4 separate regions of the Homo sapiens genome follow, and all the other regions are linked to region 2. Evidence: promoter capture Hi-C in 16 types of primary human blood cells and fetal thymus (Javierre and others, 2016). All regions are on one chromosome and are shown on one strand. The core of a region is centred on a gene start or on the middle of the fragment in contact, and the rest is flanking DNA. Distances in the headings are between cores, read along the strand shown.

Region 1 (4,439 bases), core at 586-3,085, 1.2 Mb after region 2:
CAGGGACCCTTGCTGTTTGGAGTGACTTCTCAACGTTTTCAAAGTCCCTCTCTACTGCGTGGGACAAGTTGGGGCTGGCAGTACTGTTCCCAGACCAAGCCCAGGCCGGGTCTGGCTGCGTGTTCTAGTGGCTCAGTAACGAGAAGCAGATAAACTAAGAAAGGAAGTTTATTGCTGTAACCAGATACAGGGAGAAGGTCGGAGATAGTTTCACCAGACCAACTCGAAGCATTACAATTTTCTCAGTGCTTACGTGTGTGGGGGTTATATGGCTATGTGTGGTATCGCATTCGGCTAAGTCTATAGGTGACTAATTTTGTTCTAACTAGAAGGTTAGGAGCCAAAAATGCCTTCTAAGTTTAATGAATCTATGAGGACCCCAGTATCATCAAGGCCTGTCTCCCAAATTCTAATTAATGAGGACTGTGGTACTGAGGTGATTATTTCTATCTTCTCTCTTTAACGGTTTGGTCCAGAGAGCTGCCTTAGACTATCCAGTAAATCTGTTCGCACAGCTGCCTTTGTTACCTTGACGCGTCCCGGATTTCATTGACCTGAGACGGGTCCTGGCACAAGGAATGTAAGGCTGTCTCCATTATCTTGACTTGCTCCAAGTTTGGGAGAAGCCTGTGCAAAGCTTCTCCTGAACGTATGTTTCATTTCTGGCTTTGAGATCTGGGCATCGATTTCTCTGGGTCTAATTATTAGCTCAATGTTAAGGCAGTGCTGTGGAAATGTGTCTGTGTAACTGGGGTGCTATGCAGGCCTGTCTGTGTTACTGTCAGGGAGAATTGGCCTGGCCCAGTACCTTCCCTGGGCAGAGCCTAGAGCAGGACTTTGAGGTCCTCAGCTCCAATTCTCCCTGTTGGGGGCACCCTCCAACTCTCTACCCCTAACCCCTGCACGTGGGGTGGACCAGATGCTCCCAGGAGCTTGGGGAAACTTGTACTGAGGGGCTTCTTCCAGAGCTATGTGTCTGGCTCTGGTTCTAGGAAGGTAGGGTGGTGGGCCAATTCAGCTGACTAGTGAGCTGTTTCTTTTGCAGAATTGCCTGAGATTGGACCACCAGCATGGTGTCTAGAAAATGACTTTGGGGTGTCTCAAGTTGCTTATATAGACAGGAATCCTGGCTCCCCCTCCTCCAAATTGCCAGCCACCCCTTCCCCTTCCCCTTCCCCGCAAGGATAGCCCTGCCTATAATTCTTTGTAGCATTCAACATGATTGTGATTGTCTATTGTCTTCCTGCCTGGCTTCTTTCCTTCCTCTTTTCCTCCTTCCCCTACTATTCCCTTCCTTCCATTCATTCAGTCAACCCAGACACCATTCAAGGTTCTGGGGGATGTGGGAATAAATGCATTTCTGCTTCCTTGGAGCTTATATTCTGAGGCAGGAGCTGGGCAGTAAAAAAGTAATTCAAAAAGCAGGATAGAGATAAATGCTATACACATAACACCAGAATGAGGTAAATTCATGGGGGTCTACTTGGCACCGGGGGGAGGTCAGATAATGTCTTCTCTCTGAGGAAACCTCATTTGAGTGGAAACCTAAATGAGGAGTCAGTCTTGCAAAAATGAACCTTCCACTCTTTTCCATTGAGTAGAAAATTAAATGAGGAGTCAGCCTTGCAAAGTTTTGTTGCATTGTTCTAGCGAAGAAACGGTACCTGCAAAGGCCATGGGGTGTTTCCTGCTATTCATTCATTCATTCAACAGCAGGTTCCTGGAGTGTGGTGGGTGAGAGGAATAAGAGCCTGAGACAGGGCTGAAGAGATCAGCAACAGCACATTGTGCGAAACCCCTGTAGACACGATGACATAGAGTTTGAATATTATCCAAAAGCATGTGGGAAGCCATTTCAAGGTTTCTTTCTTTCTTTCTCTCTCTCTCTTACTTTCTCTCTCTCTCTCTGTCTTCTCTTTCTTTTTTGACAGAGTCTCGCTCTATCACCCAGGCTGGAGTGTAATGGCATGATTTTGGTTCATTGCAACCTCTGCCTCCTGGGTTCAAGCAATTCTCCTGCCTCAGCCTCCCAAGTAGCTGGGATTGCAGGTTCCCACCACCACACCTGGCTAACTTTTGTATTTTTAGTAGAGACAGGGTTTCACCATGTTGGCCAGGCTGGTCTCGAACTCCTGACCTCAGGTGATCCCCCTGCCTCAGCCTCCCAAATTGCTGGGATTACAGGCATGAGCCACCACCCCTGGCCCCATTTCAAGGTTCTCAACAGGGTGGTGCAGTATCAGTTGTGCAGATGTGGGGACTACAGATTGGAGAAGGGCTGGTAGGGGAAGCAAGGAGATCAGTGTAACTCAGAGAATGAAGCCTGAGATCACGGCAGGTGGCAGTGGAGGTGGCTAGACTAGAGTCCAGGTGGGCTTGGAGACAAATGTGGTGGGGTGGGGTTTGCTCTTAGGTTGGATGTGGAGGTCCTGGAGGAAAGGATGGAAACAGGATGACTTCTAGGTTTCTGACTTGAACAAACAGAACGACAATACTGTTAGGTAGTTAGATGGACATTAGCAGCTGGGAGAGGGAGAGAGAAGAAAGCAGGAGGGCTGTCACTAAGACCAGCCCTAGCCCACCTAAGTTCAGCCTGAGACCGTCCTAACTCCACCCTAATGGATGGAATTTATGGTACAATCTGGGGCCAGCACATCCTGGAGAAAGAAAAACTGGGGCACAGATAACGATGGCCTAAAGCCACACGTGCCCAGTCCATGTAGGCCATAACCCAGGGAAAACCCATCCTCATTATAGTCGTTATAATAAAATTTACATGTGGTTTTGCCTCTCTGAGTGGGCTTTTCTTAATGAATTATGGGTAAAAACATGCGCAGTTTAACTTCAGGGATATAACCATAAACTGCCAATCAAATGATATCATCCTGTCACTCAAACACAGCCCAAGCCTCAACTCCTCCAACAAACCCCATAAAAGCACCTTGATTTTTGTAAAGAGGGGCTGATTTTACTTCCCAGAAATGAGCCTGCTCTCCCTCAGAGTGTTTTACTGTGTTGCAATAAATCTTGCTGTAAGCTTGCATTTCAGTGTTAGTTTGCCTTTTTTTTTTTTTTTTGAGATGGAGTCTCGCTCTGTCGCTCGGGCTAGAGTGCAGTGGCGCAATCTGCCTCAGCCTCCCGAGTAGCTGGGACTACAGGCGCCCGCCACCATGCCCGGCTAATTTTTTTGTATTTTTAGTAGAGATGGGGTTTCACCGTGTTTGCCAGGATGGTCTCGATCTCCTGACCTCGTGATCCATCTGCCTTGGCCTCCCAAAGTGCTGGGATTACAGGTGTGAGCCCAGCCTAGTTTGCAATTCTTTGCTCACTATCACAAGAACTGAGATTGCTGGTCCAGAGCTCCAGCTCTGTTGATCTTGGTTAAAGAATCCATTCCAACACAGGATGCCCGGTAACAATACCACTGGCAGAGATGAGGAAGCCCGGGGGACAAGTGACAGATTTTGAGATGGGTGTCAGCAATTAGAAAGTTATTTGTGCTGGGCGCGGTGGCTCACGCCTGTAACCCCAGCACTTTGGGAGGCCGAGGCAGGCGGATCACCTGAGGTCGGGAGTTCGAGACCAGCCTGACCAACATGCAGAAACCCCGTCTCTACTAAAAATACAGAATTAGGCAGGTGTGGTGGCACATGCCTGTAATCCCAGCTACTTGAGAGGCTGAGGCAGGAGAATTGCTTGAACCCGGGAGGAGGAAGTTGCGGTGAGCCAAGATCACATCATTGCGCTCTAGCCCAGGCAACAAGAGCAAAACTCCATCTAAAAAGAAAGAAAGAAAGAAAGAAAGTTATTTGTAATATAATAGATTTCAGGTGTAATACCTGAGTGGAGATAGTGAGTAGGCAGATGAATTTTTTTATCCTGGAGTTCGGGGGAGAATCTGACCTGTAACTATACACTTGGGAGGAGGGATCAGCATATACACATTATTTCAAGGCATGGAGAGAATGTGAAGAAGCCCAAAATTGAGCTCTGAGGAACACTAACTTTTCAATGTTGAGTGCAGCGGGAGGAGTGTAGCAGAAACTAATTGAGTCCATATATATATACATATATACACACATATTTTAAATTAAGATGAGTTACACTAGAGCCTGTTTGTATGGTGTTAATGGTCCAGAACAGAAGGCTGACAATTTAGGAGAAGGATCAACAAAATATCAAAATCTCAGAAAATGCAGGTGGTAGCCAGGCACTCACACCTTGTAATCTCAACACTGGGAGGCAGAGGTGGGAGGATCACTTGAGCCCGGGAGTTCAAGACCAGCCTGGGCAACATACGGAGACCATGTCGCTACACAAAAATAAAAAATAAAAATTAGCTGGTGTGGTAGCACATGCCTGCTGTTGTCCCAGCTACATGGGAGGCTGAGGTGGGAGGATTGCTTGAGGCCGGGAGGTCAAAGTTGCAATCAGTCGTG
Region 2 (4,102 bases), core at 439-2,938:
TCAATTATTATTATGTATGTGTATGTGTGTGTGTGTATATATATATATATGTGTGTGTGTGTATATATATATGTGTGTGTGTGTGTGTATATATATATATATATATATATTTTTTTTTTTTTTTTTTTTTTTTTCTGAGACAGAGTCTCACTCTGTCACCCAGGCTGGAGTGCAGTGGCACAATCTTAGCTCACTGCAACCTCCACCTTTTGTGTTCATGCGATTCTCCTGCCTCAGCCTCCTGTATAGCTGGGAACACAGGCGTCCGCCACCACACCCGGCTAATTGTTGTATTTTTAGCAGAGACGGGGTTTCACCATGTTGGCCAGGCTGGTCTCGAGCTCCTGACCTCAGGTGTTCCACCCACCTCGGCCTCCCAAAGTACTGTGGTTACAGGCGTGAGCCACTGCTCCCAGCCTATTTTTATTTACTTTTTTTTTTTTTTTTTTTTTGAGACGGAGTCTCGCTCTTTCGCCCAGGCCAGACTGCAGTGGCGCTGTCTCTGCTCACTGCAACCTCCGCCTCCCGGGTTCACGCCATTCTCCTGCCTCAGCCTCCCGAGTAGCTGGGACTACAGGTGCCCGCCACCGCGCCCGGCTAATTTTTTGTATTTTTAGTAGAGTCGGGGTTTCACCGTGTTAGCCAGGATGGTCTCCATCTCCTGACCTCGTGATCCGCCCGCCTCGGCCTCGCAAAGTGCTGGGATTACAGGCGTGAGCCACCGCGCCCGGCCTTTTATTTACTTTTTGAGACAGGGCCTGGCTCTGTCACCCAGGCTGGAGTGCAATGGTGCAATCACAGCTCCCTGTAGCCTCAACCTCCTGGGCTCAGGCAATTCTCCCACCTCAGCCTCCCGAGTAGCTGAGACTACATACGCATGCCATCACTGCTGGCTAATTTTTGTGGTTTTGTTTTGTTTTTTATAGAGACGGGGTCTCGCCATGTTGCCGAGGCTGGTCTCAAACTCCTGGTCTCAAGCAATCCTCCTGTCTCCGCCTCCCAAGTGCTGGGATTATAGGCATGAGCCACCCGCGTCTCATCAATTAAATAAATAACCCCTAGGACGACTAAGATGTCTTCAAGATTACATGAGATCCCACATCTGAAGGTTTTTGCAAAGGACTTGGCACAAACTCGTGCGACTAGACATGGATATGGCTCTTGCTCTGGAAAGGATCACCTTGATAGGAGCAAACAAAGCTGGTCTTCGGTGCCCTTTAATCTCCCCTCCCAGCCTTCCACCTTCCACACTTTAAGAGTCGTCCCTGCCGACCCCCCGACCCCGTTTTTCTGAACCTCCCTTCCTCCCCTTGCATAGTCCAAAGCCTCTCTCTAAAGCAGCCCCCCGAAAACATCTGTCAAGTTCCAAACTTATCTGAATCGGAAGCTACCAATAGCCAACCTACATCTAAGGGGAACTGTAAGATTTCAGAAGAACAAGAAGCATAGGTCGCTTAGGCGTGGGCCACCCAAGAAGAGAGACTTAACACTAGGTAAGCCCGCGCTGGCTGCGAAGGCGGGAGCGGCACCAGGACCATCCAGGGCGCAGGCGCAGGGACCTCACGGCCACGCCACTACTCAGCCCGAGCTGGCCAATGGGGAGCGGCGGCCGGAAGAACGCGCGGCTTCGCTAGGTTCCGCGGCTTCCTCTGACCAAGCTTGACGTCACCAAAGCGCGCCGGAAATGCGAGGTCAACTGCGCGCCGCTGGCGCTGAGGGGAGGAAGTTTGCTGTCGAGCGGCCTGGGTTCCGTGGGCAAGGCCGTGGGAGGCAGCGTTGGCTGCTTCGACACACTGAGGGCGGCGCGATGGGAGACGAGATGGATGCCATGATTCCCGAGCGGGAGATGAAGGTCAGAGACTAACCGGGGCCTCCCTCCCTTCTTTAGTCCTGGCGTTGCCTTGGAGCCCAGCTGAAAGGCGAAGCGCGGTGCTGGCTGTCCCGCCTCCTGCTTGAACAGTTTACCGCGTTCACAGCTCTCACCAGCGCGTCTGCCGCGCCGCTGGCGTGATAGCCCCACCGAATGCAGTTTCCCAGTCCCATCCTGGTCTCGTGCACGGCTGTTGAGTTACCCTAGCTACTTCCTGGGGCGGTCACAATAGTGGCAATAACTGCTGTTTATTGAGTGTTGACTGTGTGCCAGGCACTGTGGTAGTCATCGCGGCAGCCCTACGAAGTAGTCGTTAACGTAGAGGAGTAAGTTGAGGCTCGGAAAGTAATTTCCCTAAAGTCACATTTGACGCGGGGCTGAAAGCCAGCATCATTTAAGACCTTTGCTCTCCCAGTACTTCTGTAAGGTGATACGGGCTTGCCTAACGTAGAGTCAGGGAAGGTCATCCATCCTGCAGAACCTTTAGTTGATTGGACTAGGAAGACTATTTTGACCTCGGTATATCAGCCTAAAGTCAGGAACCTAAAGGGAGGGCCAAGTGGTCCCAGTGATAGCAACGTGGGAGTCCCCCAGGGATAACTTCAGGATGGTGTGTTTAATAGTTCTTATATGGGTTCTGACAGAATGAGGGTACAACAGACGGGCTACATCTGTTTTAAATAGTGAAAAGAAGTAAGTTGCAGGAAGATTTTAGGCATCTGTGTGAACAATAAATCACTAAAATGCATTTAGGGCATAGTAATACCATGTTTAGAATAGTGATTTTTTTTTTTTTTTGAGACAGAGTCTTGCTCTGTCACCCAAGCTGGAGTGCAGTGGCATGATCTCGGCTCCCTGCAACCTCCACCTCCCCGGCTCAAGCGATTCTCCTGCTTCAACCTCCCTAGTAGCTGGTATTACAGGCGCCTGCCACCACGCCCCACTAATTTTTTATATCATTTGGTAGAGACTGGGTTTCACGATGTTGGCCAGGCTGGTCTCGAACTCCTGACCTAACGTGATCCGCCCTCCTCTGGCTCCCAAAGTGCTGGGATTATAGGCGTGAGCTACCGTGCTGTCCTAGAATAGTGATTATTTTTTGAGAATCACCACCTGTGGTGAGCCACCTAATGGGGTTGTGTCATATTCCTCAGATATGCTGGGGTAGAAGAAAAAAAGGTTTTATTAATAGAACCACAGACTTAGAAGATGGTAATCTCGCACTCCCTTTGGCAGCACATATAAAATTGGGATCATGCAGAGAAGACTATTATGGCCCCTTTACATGGATGACAGACAAATTCATGAAGTGTTCCATATCAGAAAAAAATGAGGGCCGAGTGTGGTGGCTCATGCCTGTGAGCTTGCACTTTGGGAGGCTGAGGTGGATGGATCACTTGAGGTCCGGAGTTCGAGACTAGCCTGGCCAACATAATGAAACCCTGTGTCTACTAAAAATACAAAAATTAGATGGCCATGGTGGCGGGTGCCTGTAATCCCAGCTACTTGGGAGTCTGAAGCAGGAGAATCGCTTGAACCTGGGAGGCAGAGGTTGCAGTGAGCCAAGATCGCTGCACTGCACTCCAGCCTGGACGACAGAGCGAGACTCCATCTCAAAAAAGAAAAAAAGACAATTGAGACAGACCTTGGTCTCAGTAATACATATTTTTGTTGTACTGAAATTGGGTCTACTGAATATAACATGTTTTAATTTCTTTCTTTATTGAATTGATCTCGTTTTGATTCTTCACAACAGGATTTTCAGTTTAGAGCGCTAAAGAAGGTGAGAATCTTTGACTCCCCTGAGGAATTGCCCAAGGAACGCTCGAGTCTGCTTGCTGTGTCCAACAAATATGGTCTGGTCTTCGCTGGTGGAGCCAGTGGCTTGCAGATTTTTCCTACTAAAAATCTTCTTATTCAAAATAAACCCGGAGATGATCCCAACAAAATAGGTAAGTTCCCTGGTTTATGTTGCAAAGTAGAGAGAGGAGTATGGTGGCATGCTCTTGTGTTTCCTTCCCAAGAAGTCATTCTAATACTAAAATGAACACTGCTGTCAGTTTGAAGGTTGACTCCCAAGAAGATTAATGGAAGCCTTTCTAGGTTTTCTCCTTGGTCCTTTGTATTTCTCCTTACATGAGTTGTTCCTCTCAGCTCAACAGGGAAGAACTTAACCATTATGCCATGCTTTTATTTTTGCTCAGTTGAACTTGGGCTCTGGCTCTCTGGGTG
Region 3 (4,058 bases), core at 241-2,740, 1.1 Mb after region 2:
CAGAGGAAATCAAACGCTTTAATGATTGATCCCATTCCCATAAGGGGAACTAGGCTAAAAACTTAGAAACAAAAGCAAATGAATCCCCAAAACAACAAAGAAAAAGCCCAAGGACAAAAAAAGTTAGGAAGCCCAGCTGACATGTCGGGAAGTTTCAGATTCTCGTCTGTCTCTTTTTGTAGCACTGCCTTCCTAGAGTGAAGACAATGTCGGTGCCATTAGCTGGAGGTCAGTGGTCTGCACAGTTGTGCAAGTGTGACCCAGGGGCTCCCAAACACTGTCTAAACGGAATGTGAAAAAGGGTTACAGAATAACCTTGCAAACCCTACTTCCCATGTCCTCCTTGGGCTGCCCTGCCTCCTGCACCCCACCCTTCACAATCATGATGCGCCTCATCCATCCAGAGTGCACTGCCAAGACACATCAACACCATGAGGTGCCAACTTAAGGGAGGATGAAAAACAGTAGTGCCCACAAAGCCTCCTTTAATCAAGGCATCACTAAAAGATGTATCTCTAGCAACATTTCATTTACTTGTCAGGTTTAAACATGATCAAAATCTGTGATATTAAATATATTTGTCTTGTTTTGCTCAACTGTACAAATAAGTGTTAACAGGCTATTCAATTGATAAGAGATCACGTTTTAACACTCAGATGCTTATGGTCACAGGAAAAGCAATTTTTAAAAATCCAAACCTACATTTTGAGATAACTATAGATTTACAGGAAGTTGCAAGGAAAGTACTGAGAGGTTGCATGCACCCTTCACATGGGTTCCCCAAATAGTGATAAAAATCAACTTTTTAGGCCGAGGTGGGATGACTTTAGCCCAGGAGTTTGAGACCAGCCTGGACAACATGGTAAGACCCTTTCTCTACTAAAAGTACAAAAATTAGGTACATGCGCCTATAGTCTCAGCTACTCAGGAGGCTGAGGTGGGAGAACGGCTTAAATCCAGGAGGCGGAGGCTGCAGTGAGCTGTGATTGTGCCACTGCACTCCCGCCAGGGGAAAACAACTTTTTAAACTTTCAAGTTATACAGAAATTTTTGTGAGAGAGGTGTAGATCAGTGAGATTAACTTAAAGGCTTTTAATTCTAAAAAGAGATTACCCCAGTGAATCTTAGCCTAAACAAGCAGGAATGGAAGTACAATTTCAAAGAGAGGAAAAAATAAAATAATATTGCTTTCTATTCCACTGGATATATTTAAGAGTGATGTAATAATTTTAATTGCTGTATTTTAAAATGTCAATATTGATAATACATCAGAAGCATAATCTTCAGTAATATTTAAACTTACAAAGATTTTTTCTATCAACTTAAAAATAGGAGGTACATAAAAATAAACGGTACACAGCTTTTAAAACTTCCTTCAGAGCAGGCACACAGACGACAAAGGCTGGAGGTGATAGAGGAGTGAAACAAGAAAGAAGGTGTATCTGAGCGCCACCTGGTGGCAGGAACCAAAACCAGGGGAAACAGCCACCAAGTTGGCTCTTCTTAGATGAAATCAATGACTTCATAAAAAAGAGAAATGAGGAAAACTACAAAGTTATTACCCCTAATAAGACAAACAGCAAATACGTGCTACATCTAGCTGTGATATCAGTGAATTAAGCTGTACCATTTGTCTACTGAAGTTGGAAACTCGTACACCTCTTCCAGAGGGGCGCCTGTCCTGGCAGAAGAATGCCGGAGGCGCTAAGTGCTGGAGAAACAGAGTGAGCAGCACAGCTCCCAGTGCCAGCAGAAAAGCAGAGCAGAGCACGCGCCTGCAAACTCTCTCTGGCATTAAGCTGGGCCAATAACAGCCACATTTACTGAGTGTTTACTAAGTGCCAAGCAATTGCTTTGGCACTTTACATCTGTGGGTTTAATATACCTTCTTAACAATAATCCTATGATGTGGATAATTTGTTTTAAAATGGTCACCTTGAGAGCCCAGTGTAGATACTTGGGTTCTGGGCTGAAAAAAGGCGAATGGTTCACGTGTACACAAAAGCTCCTAGGAAGAAGTTGCTGGAAAACATAACAACCATTATTTTGTAATCCAGAAATCATTTACACTTTGATGGAAAATAAGAACAAAAACTCAATCCAACAACAGTAACAATGGGTAAACTTCTGAGCTCTCTGGTACCTACCATCAGGGTCCTCAAATGTCCGAGGATGAAGAGGCTGTACTTGGCTCGTGTGATGGTGACATTCAATCTCTGCAAACTTGCCAGGAATCTAGGCAATAAAAAAAGAGTTCCTTCTTTGTCTAGAATGACTTAACATGCCCATGTGAGACAAAGGTGGACTCTAGAATGACTCAACGTGCCCGTGTCTGACAGAGGTGGAATCTTGAATGACTCAGTGAGCCCGAGACACAGGTGGACTCTAGAATGACTCAGCGTGCCCGTGTGAGACACAGGTGGATTCTAGAATGACTCAGCATCCTCATGTGAGACACAGGTGGACTCTAGAATGACTCAGCGTGCCCGTGTGAGACACAGGTGGACTCTAGAATGACTCAGCATCCTCATGTGAGACACAGGTGGACTCTAGAATGACTCAGCGTGCCCGTGTGAGACACAGGTGGACTCTAGAATGACTCAGCATCCTCATGTGAGACACAGGTGGACTCTAGAATGACTCAGCGTGCCCGTGTGAGACACAGGTGGACTCTAGAATGACTCAGCATCCTCATGTGAGACACAGGTGGACTCTAGAATGACTCAGCGTGCCCATGTGAGACACAGGTGGACTCTACAATGACTCAGTATGCCCATGTGAGACACAGGTGGACTCTAGAATGACTCAGCGTGCCCATGTGAGACACAGGTAGACTCTAGAATGACTCAGCGTGCCCGTGTGAGACACAGGTGGACTCTAGACTCAGCATGCCCATGTGAGACACAGATGGACTCTAGAATGACTCAGCATGCCAGTGAGACACAGGTGAACTCTAGAATGACTCAGCATGCCCATGTGAGACACAGGTGGACTGCAGGCAGCTTTTCCGGGACTCCTTCACTCCTCTAGAAGTCACAGTGCTTTCTTACTCTCCGTCCCAATACAGGGTACCGGGCACAGAAGAATTCCTATTAAAAACAGGAAACAAACCAAAACCTCGGGGCTTCCTTCAAAGTGATGCATCTATCAATTTCCTATTTTTACCTGGATAAGATAATTGGAAATTTTAACAGTGCAATCTTGAAGCCTTGAAAAATCCTAAAAATGTGGTACCAGCCTAATCACTTTATTCTTACATTTAAATATATCTAGACTGTTAAGATATTGTAGAACTAGTGTAGAAATACATGAACACCAGATAAATATTTCAGTAGATCAGAAAAAGAGCTCAGAAATAGAATTGATGTATGATAAAAGTGAAATTTCAAATTAGCTGGGAAAGAAAGGTCTATTTATAAACTGACCCTGAGATACAACTGGGCTCTGTATATGCAGCCCATCCCAGGGAGGGGCAAAGATTACTTTAATTACTATTTTATTTGAAAACGAACTAATTTATAACCTGTAAATTCTGTCTGCTTCTCATGACAAGAAACAAATAATCATGTAAGAGTCTTGGGCTTGGGATATTTTCTGTCACTCATACAGGTGTCCTTAGCATCTTAAATAAACTGACAGTAGTTAAGGTGAACAAATTTAGCCAAAGCAGGAAAACACAGAAAACAATGACACTTTGACACATACCATGGGGAGTAATATGCCTCTGCAAAGTATAATCTAATTATTTATTTGAATCTTATTAAATAAAAGAACAGATTCACACTATGAAATGGGTTAATATAAAAGACACCAAGGCCGGGCGCAGTGACTCACGCCTGTAATCCCAGCATTTTGGGAGGCCAAAGTGGGTGGAGCACTTGAGCTCAGGAGTTTGAGACCAGCCTGGGCAACCTGGCAAAACACTGTCTCTACAGAAAAATACAAAAATTAGCTGGGCGTGGTAGCACATGCCTGTAGTCCCAGCTACTCGGGAGGCTGATGCAGAAGAATCGCTTGAACCCAGGAGGTGGAGGATGCAGTGGGCCAAGATTGCACCA
Region 4 (4,336 bases), core at 1,788-4,287, 1.2 Mb after region 2:
TCAACCATGGAATTCAAGGCATTCGTGTGAGCTTTAGGAAGAGGGTGGCACTGTGGTCCTCCACGGCTCACACAGTAAAGCACTGTCAGACACTGTCCTCAGCCACCTAGTGAGTACAACTGCTGAGCATAGTTTCATGGCCCACAGAACACATGTGATGAGCAGCAAAAAACATCTGTGAAGATGGACTTCATCCTTGACTCAGGAAAGATTAATCTGGGGTTCTGTTTAAAATCTGATTAAAATCTGTTTAATCAAAAGCTTTCACATAACTTTTAGTTTAAATAAACTGCTAATGAAAATATGCATTAAATTCAACTATATTTTAGTCACATAGAGAAAGATCATAATCCATTCAGGAGGAAACTTCAGCAAAAATACTACTAACGTCATCAGTTACTATTACCCTCTTTCCCTGACCCCAGTGTGGTTTGATTAGGGCTGCATTCTGACAATCAGGGTATACACCTGGCTCGGCCAAGCTTCAATGAGTCTAAATCTTACAGGATATTTTCACATCCAAAAAATACTGGAGAAAAGCTACAAAATGTTACAGGAGTCTTATGATCCAACACAAGTACAGGGAGTTTATGCTCTAACCCAAGAATTGCAAAAAACAAAAACCAAATATCAAAGTGCTGTACTTTCTTTTGCCGAATTCTGCCCACCATCACTCTACTTCTATCCAGGTTGGAGCTCTGGAGGGCTCACAGTTGCCACCCTCATCCTAAAGCTCATACAGGTGACTTTTTTTTTTTAATAGTGAAAACACCCACAAAGCTATTTTTTTTGTTGTTTTTTTTTTTTGAGACGGAGTCTCGCTCTGTCACCCAGGCTGGAGTGCAGTGGCGCGATCTCCACTCACTGCAAGCTCTGCCTCCCAGGTTCACGCCATTCTCCTGCCTCAGGCTCCCGAGTAGGTGGGATTACAGGTGCCCACCACCACGCCCAGCTAATTTTTTGTATTTTATTAGAGACGGGGTTTCACTGTGTTAGCCAGGATGGTCTCAATCTCCTGACCTCGTGATCCGCCCGCCTCGGCCTCCCAAAGTGCTGGGAGTACAGGCGTGAGCCACCGCGCCTGGCCAAAGCTATTTTCATTAACTGTTTATCTGATGATAATTATCATAATTGTTTTTTGCAGTTTATGGGAAGCAGAAATAGAGCACCTTATAAGAAAGAATTTAAATATTTACCAGACTTAAAACAAAAAAGATAACTTATAACCACCTCTTAGAAATCTTAGATGGTGGTAAGAATTCATTCTTAGGTTAAAGAAAAAAATGCAAATGTTGTTACACCATTTTCTCCACTTCCACAGATGTTTGTAATTTTTCATAACAATTTAAAATGTAACTGAGAAAAGCCCATAGCTGGCCAGGCATGGTGGCTCACGCCTGTAATGCCAACACTTTGGGAGGCCGAGACGGGGGATGACTTGAGGTTGGACGTTCCAGACCAGCATGGCCAACATGGTGAAACCCCATCTCTATTAAAAATACAAAAAAAGGGCCAGGCATGGTGGCTCACGCCTGTAATCCCAGCACTTAGGGAGGCCGAGGTGGGCGGATCACAACGTCATGAGATGGAGACCATCCTGGCCAACATGGTGAAACCCCATCTCTACTAAAAATACAAAATTTAGTCGGGCGTGGTGGCGCACACCTGTAGTCCCAGCTACTCGGGAGGCTGAGGCAGGAGAATCACTTGAACCTGGGAGGCAGAGGTTGCAGTGAGCTGAGATTGTGCCACTGCACTCCAGCCTGGCAACAGAGTGAGACTCTGTCTCAAAAAAAAAAAAACACAAAAGAGGCCAGGTGTGGTGCCTCACGCCTGTAATCCCAGCACTTTGAGGGAGGCTGAGGCAGGAGGATCATGACGTCAAGAGATCCAGACCATCCTGGCCAACACGGTGAAACCCCGTCTCTACTAACAATGCAAAAATTAGCTGGGCGTGGTGGCACACGCCTGTAATCCTAGCTACTCGGGAGGCTGAGGCAGGAGAATCGCTTGAACCCGGGAGGCAGAGGTTGCAGTGAGCCAAGATCACGCCACTATACTCCAGTCTGGTGACAGAGCAAGACTTCACCTCAAAAAAAAAAAAAAAAAAAAATTAGCCAGGCATGGTGGTGCACGCCTGTAATCCCAGCCACATGGGAGACTGAGGTTGCAGTGAGCTGAGATCATGCCACTGCACCCCAGCCTGAGAGACAGAGTGAGACTCTGTCTCCAAAATAAATAAATAAAAGCCCATAGCTTGTCTGAACAGTCATACTTAAATTTTAAAAAGAAAAAAAAAAAAATCAAGAAAATGCTACAGGTGAACTACTTACCTCTTTAATTTTAGAAGCAAGTTCCTGCCTTTCCTTAGAAACTTTGGAAATGTTTTCATCTAATTCTTGCCTCTGGAAAAAAATTCAAATGTCACAATTAAAACTAAACTAAGCATTTTTAAATGCCTTCCAATGGACTACCTCTAATTTTAAAAGAGCCTGTATTTCACCAATGAAAAATGTATTTACCCAGCTTATTTCCTCTTTACCACTGGAGTCCTGACACACTCTGTATGCTGCTGCGTAAGACTCAGCTGTGTTCTGTGCGCTGCACGTGAGCTGTCTGCTTAGCATTCCAGCACTGGGAGCATCACGCCACCCTTAACTTCCAGGTGATTCAAATGAGGCTGTAAATCACACCCCAACCATTCCTCTGGCCACAGTGATGGGCATCTAACACAGGCCTGGCCAATCATGCACCCATCTTCTTAAAAATAGGGATTAGACCTGCTTGCTCACCCAGGGACTAAACTAACTGCTTCTTTGGATATATGGATGCTAAGAGAAAGACTTTCTCTCCCTCTGGGGTTTCAAAGCTGAGATGGTGGAAGCCCTGAGATGCTGACACTCACCTTTCTCAGAAGAAATGGCTGACACACAGAAAAACAAATTATGGAGTGGAGAAATGATATCATGTGACCCTCTGGATCCACCCATACTGAAGCTAATTCCCTTTCTGTCTAACCTAATTTGAACTGGGCTCAACATGCAACTGAAAGGCAACTAATAAACTCAGTATAGCTTTAATATAAGGCAGTACAGCCTATAAGCCAAATGCAAGGCCATGTGCAGGGACTCATGCCTGTAATCCTGGCACTTTGGGAGGCTAAGGTGAGAGGACTGCTTGAGGCAAGAAGTTCAGACCACCCTGGGCAACATGGCAAGACCCAGTTTCTACAGAAAACAAACAAAAAAATTAGCCAGGCATGATGGCACACGGCTGTAGTCCCAGCTACTCAAGAGGCTGAGGCAGAAAGACAGCTCACTTGAGTCCAAGAGCTTGAGGCTAAATTGAACCACAACTGCACCACTGCACTCCAGCCTGGGCCACAAAGTGAGACCCTATCTCAAAAACAAACAAAAACGCAACACCCCATCTATTTTCGTAAATAAAGTTCTACTGGAACACAGCCACATCCATTTGTTTATGTATTATCTATGGCTGCCTTTGTGCTACCAAAAGCAGAGTTGAATAGCTGCAACAGAAACCAACCATATGGCTTGCAAAGCCTAAAATCTTTACTAGAATATCTTGCCCTTTACAAAAAAGTTTTTAAAAAGATTTTTAACAAAAGTAATTTTAATAAAAGAAAAAATGAAAAAAAAAATTAAAACCAAAAGGACAAAAAAAAAAAAAGCAGAAAGAAATGTGTTAATCTGAGACACATTTTTAGTGTCTTAGTACACATTTTTATACATGAATCATGCCATTCCCCAATAAATAAAGGGCATTAAATACTCATTAATTAGGCTGGTCGCAATGGCTCATGCCTGTAATCCCAGCACTTTGGGATGCTGAGGTGGGCAGATCAACTTGAGGCCGGGAGTTCGAGACTAGCCTGGCCAACATGGTGAAACCCCATCTCCATTAAAAATACAGAAAATTAGCCAGGTGTGCCGGCACAACCTTGTAATCCCACCTACTCGGGAGGCTGAGGCAGGAGGATCACCTGAACCCAGGAAGGTGAGGCTGCAGTGAGTCAGGATTGTGCTACTGCACTCCAGCCTGGAAGACAGAGCAAGACTCTGTCTCAAAAAAAACTTGTTAACTAGTTCGTATACCTGAGTTATTATTCAAGAAATGCAAAGATACCTGTATTTCCCGTCCACCTCGGCATAGAGCTCGCTGCCGGGAAAGCTCATCCAGCTGATAATCTAGAAATTCCTTTCTTTTATGCATCGCCTGAACATGAGAAGGTAACTCTTTTTCTAATAAAAATAACAAATAAAAAATTATATGCTATTCTAATTCTAACAAACTCACACACATATACAACACAATG

The links. The method cuts DNA at HindIII sites, captures the fragments that hold promoters and counts their contacts. A CHiCAGO score of 5 or more calls a contact.
Region 1: a fragment that was not itself captured here is called in contact with the fragment with the promoter of NUP214 in region 2 in 1 of 17 cell types (monocytes); the score reaches 5.1 in monocytes.
Region 3: a contact is called between a fragment that was not itself captured here and the fragment with the promoter of NUP214 in region 2, in 4 of 17 cell types (M2 macrophages, naive B cells, M0 macrophages and 1 more). The highest score is 9.0, in M2 macrophages.
Region 4: a contact is called between a fragment that was not itself captured here and the fragment with the promoter of NUP214 in region 2, in 9 of 17 cell types (M2 macrophages, M0 macrophages, naive B cells and 6 more). The highest score is 16.7, in M2 macrophages.

The regions. Positions count from the first base shown.
Region 1 is chr9:132,367,911-132,372,349 of GRCh38, forward strand. No RefSeq gene overlaps it. Among named protein-coding and RNA genes, the nearest start is that of SETX, 15 kb to the left of the region's middle. The HindIII fragment of the contact is 2,400 bases long and covers 636-3,035 here.
Region 2 is chr9:131,123,898-131,127,999 of GRCh38, forward strand. NUP214 (nucleoporin 214) reads left to right here and starts at 1,689. Exons shown (of 36, transcript NM_005085.4): 1 at 1,689-1,852; 2 at 3,627-3,822. The coding sequence starts at 1,808. It also overlaps the pseudogene RNU6-881P. RefSeq lists an enhancer at 1,588-1,887. The HindIII fragment of the contact is 3,004 bases long and covers 1,657-4,102 here.
Region 3 is chr9:132,267,468-132,271,525 of GRCh38, forward strand. It overlaps SETX (senataxin), which reads right to left. Exons shown (of 26, transcript NM_015046.7): 25 at 2,148-2,235. Among named protein-coding and RNA genes, the nearest start is that of SETX, 85 kb to the right of the region's middle. RefSeq lists enhancers at 1,216-2,202, 1,885-3,084, 2,203-3,188 and a silencer at 2,289-2,463. The HindIII fragment of the contact is 9,425 bases long and covers 1-4,058 here.
Region 4 is chr9:132,284,090-132,288,425 of GRCh38, forward strand. It overlaps SETX (senataxin), which reads right to left. Exons shown (of 26, transcript NM_015046.7): 17 at 4,147-4,262; 18 at 2,334-2,405. Among named protein-coding and RNA genes, the nearest start is that of SETX, 69 kb to the right of the region's middle. The HindIII fragment of the contact is 5,115 bases long and covers 481-4,336 here.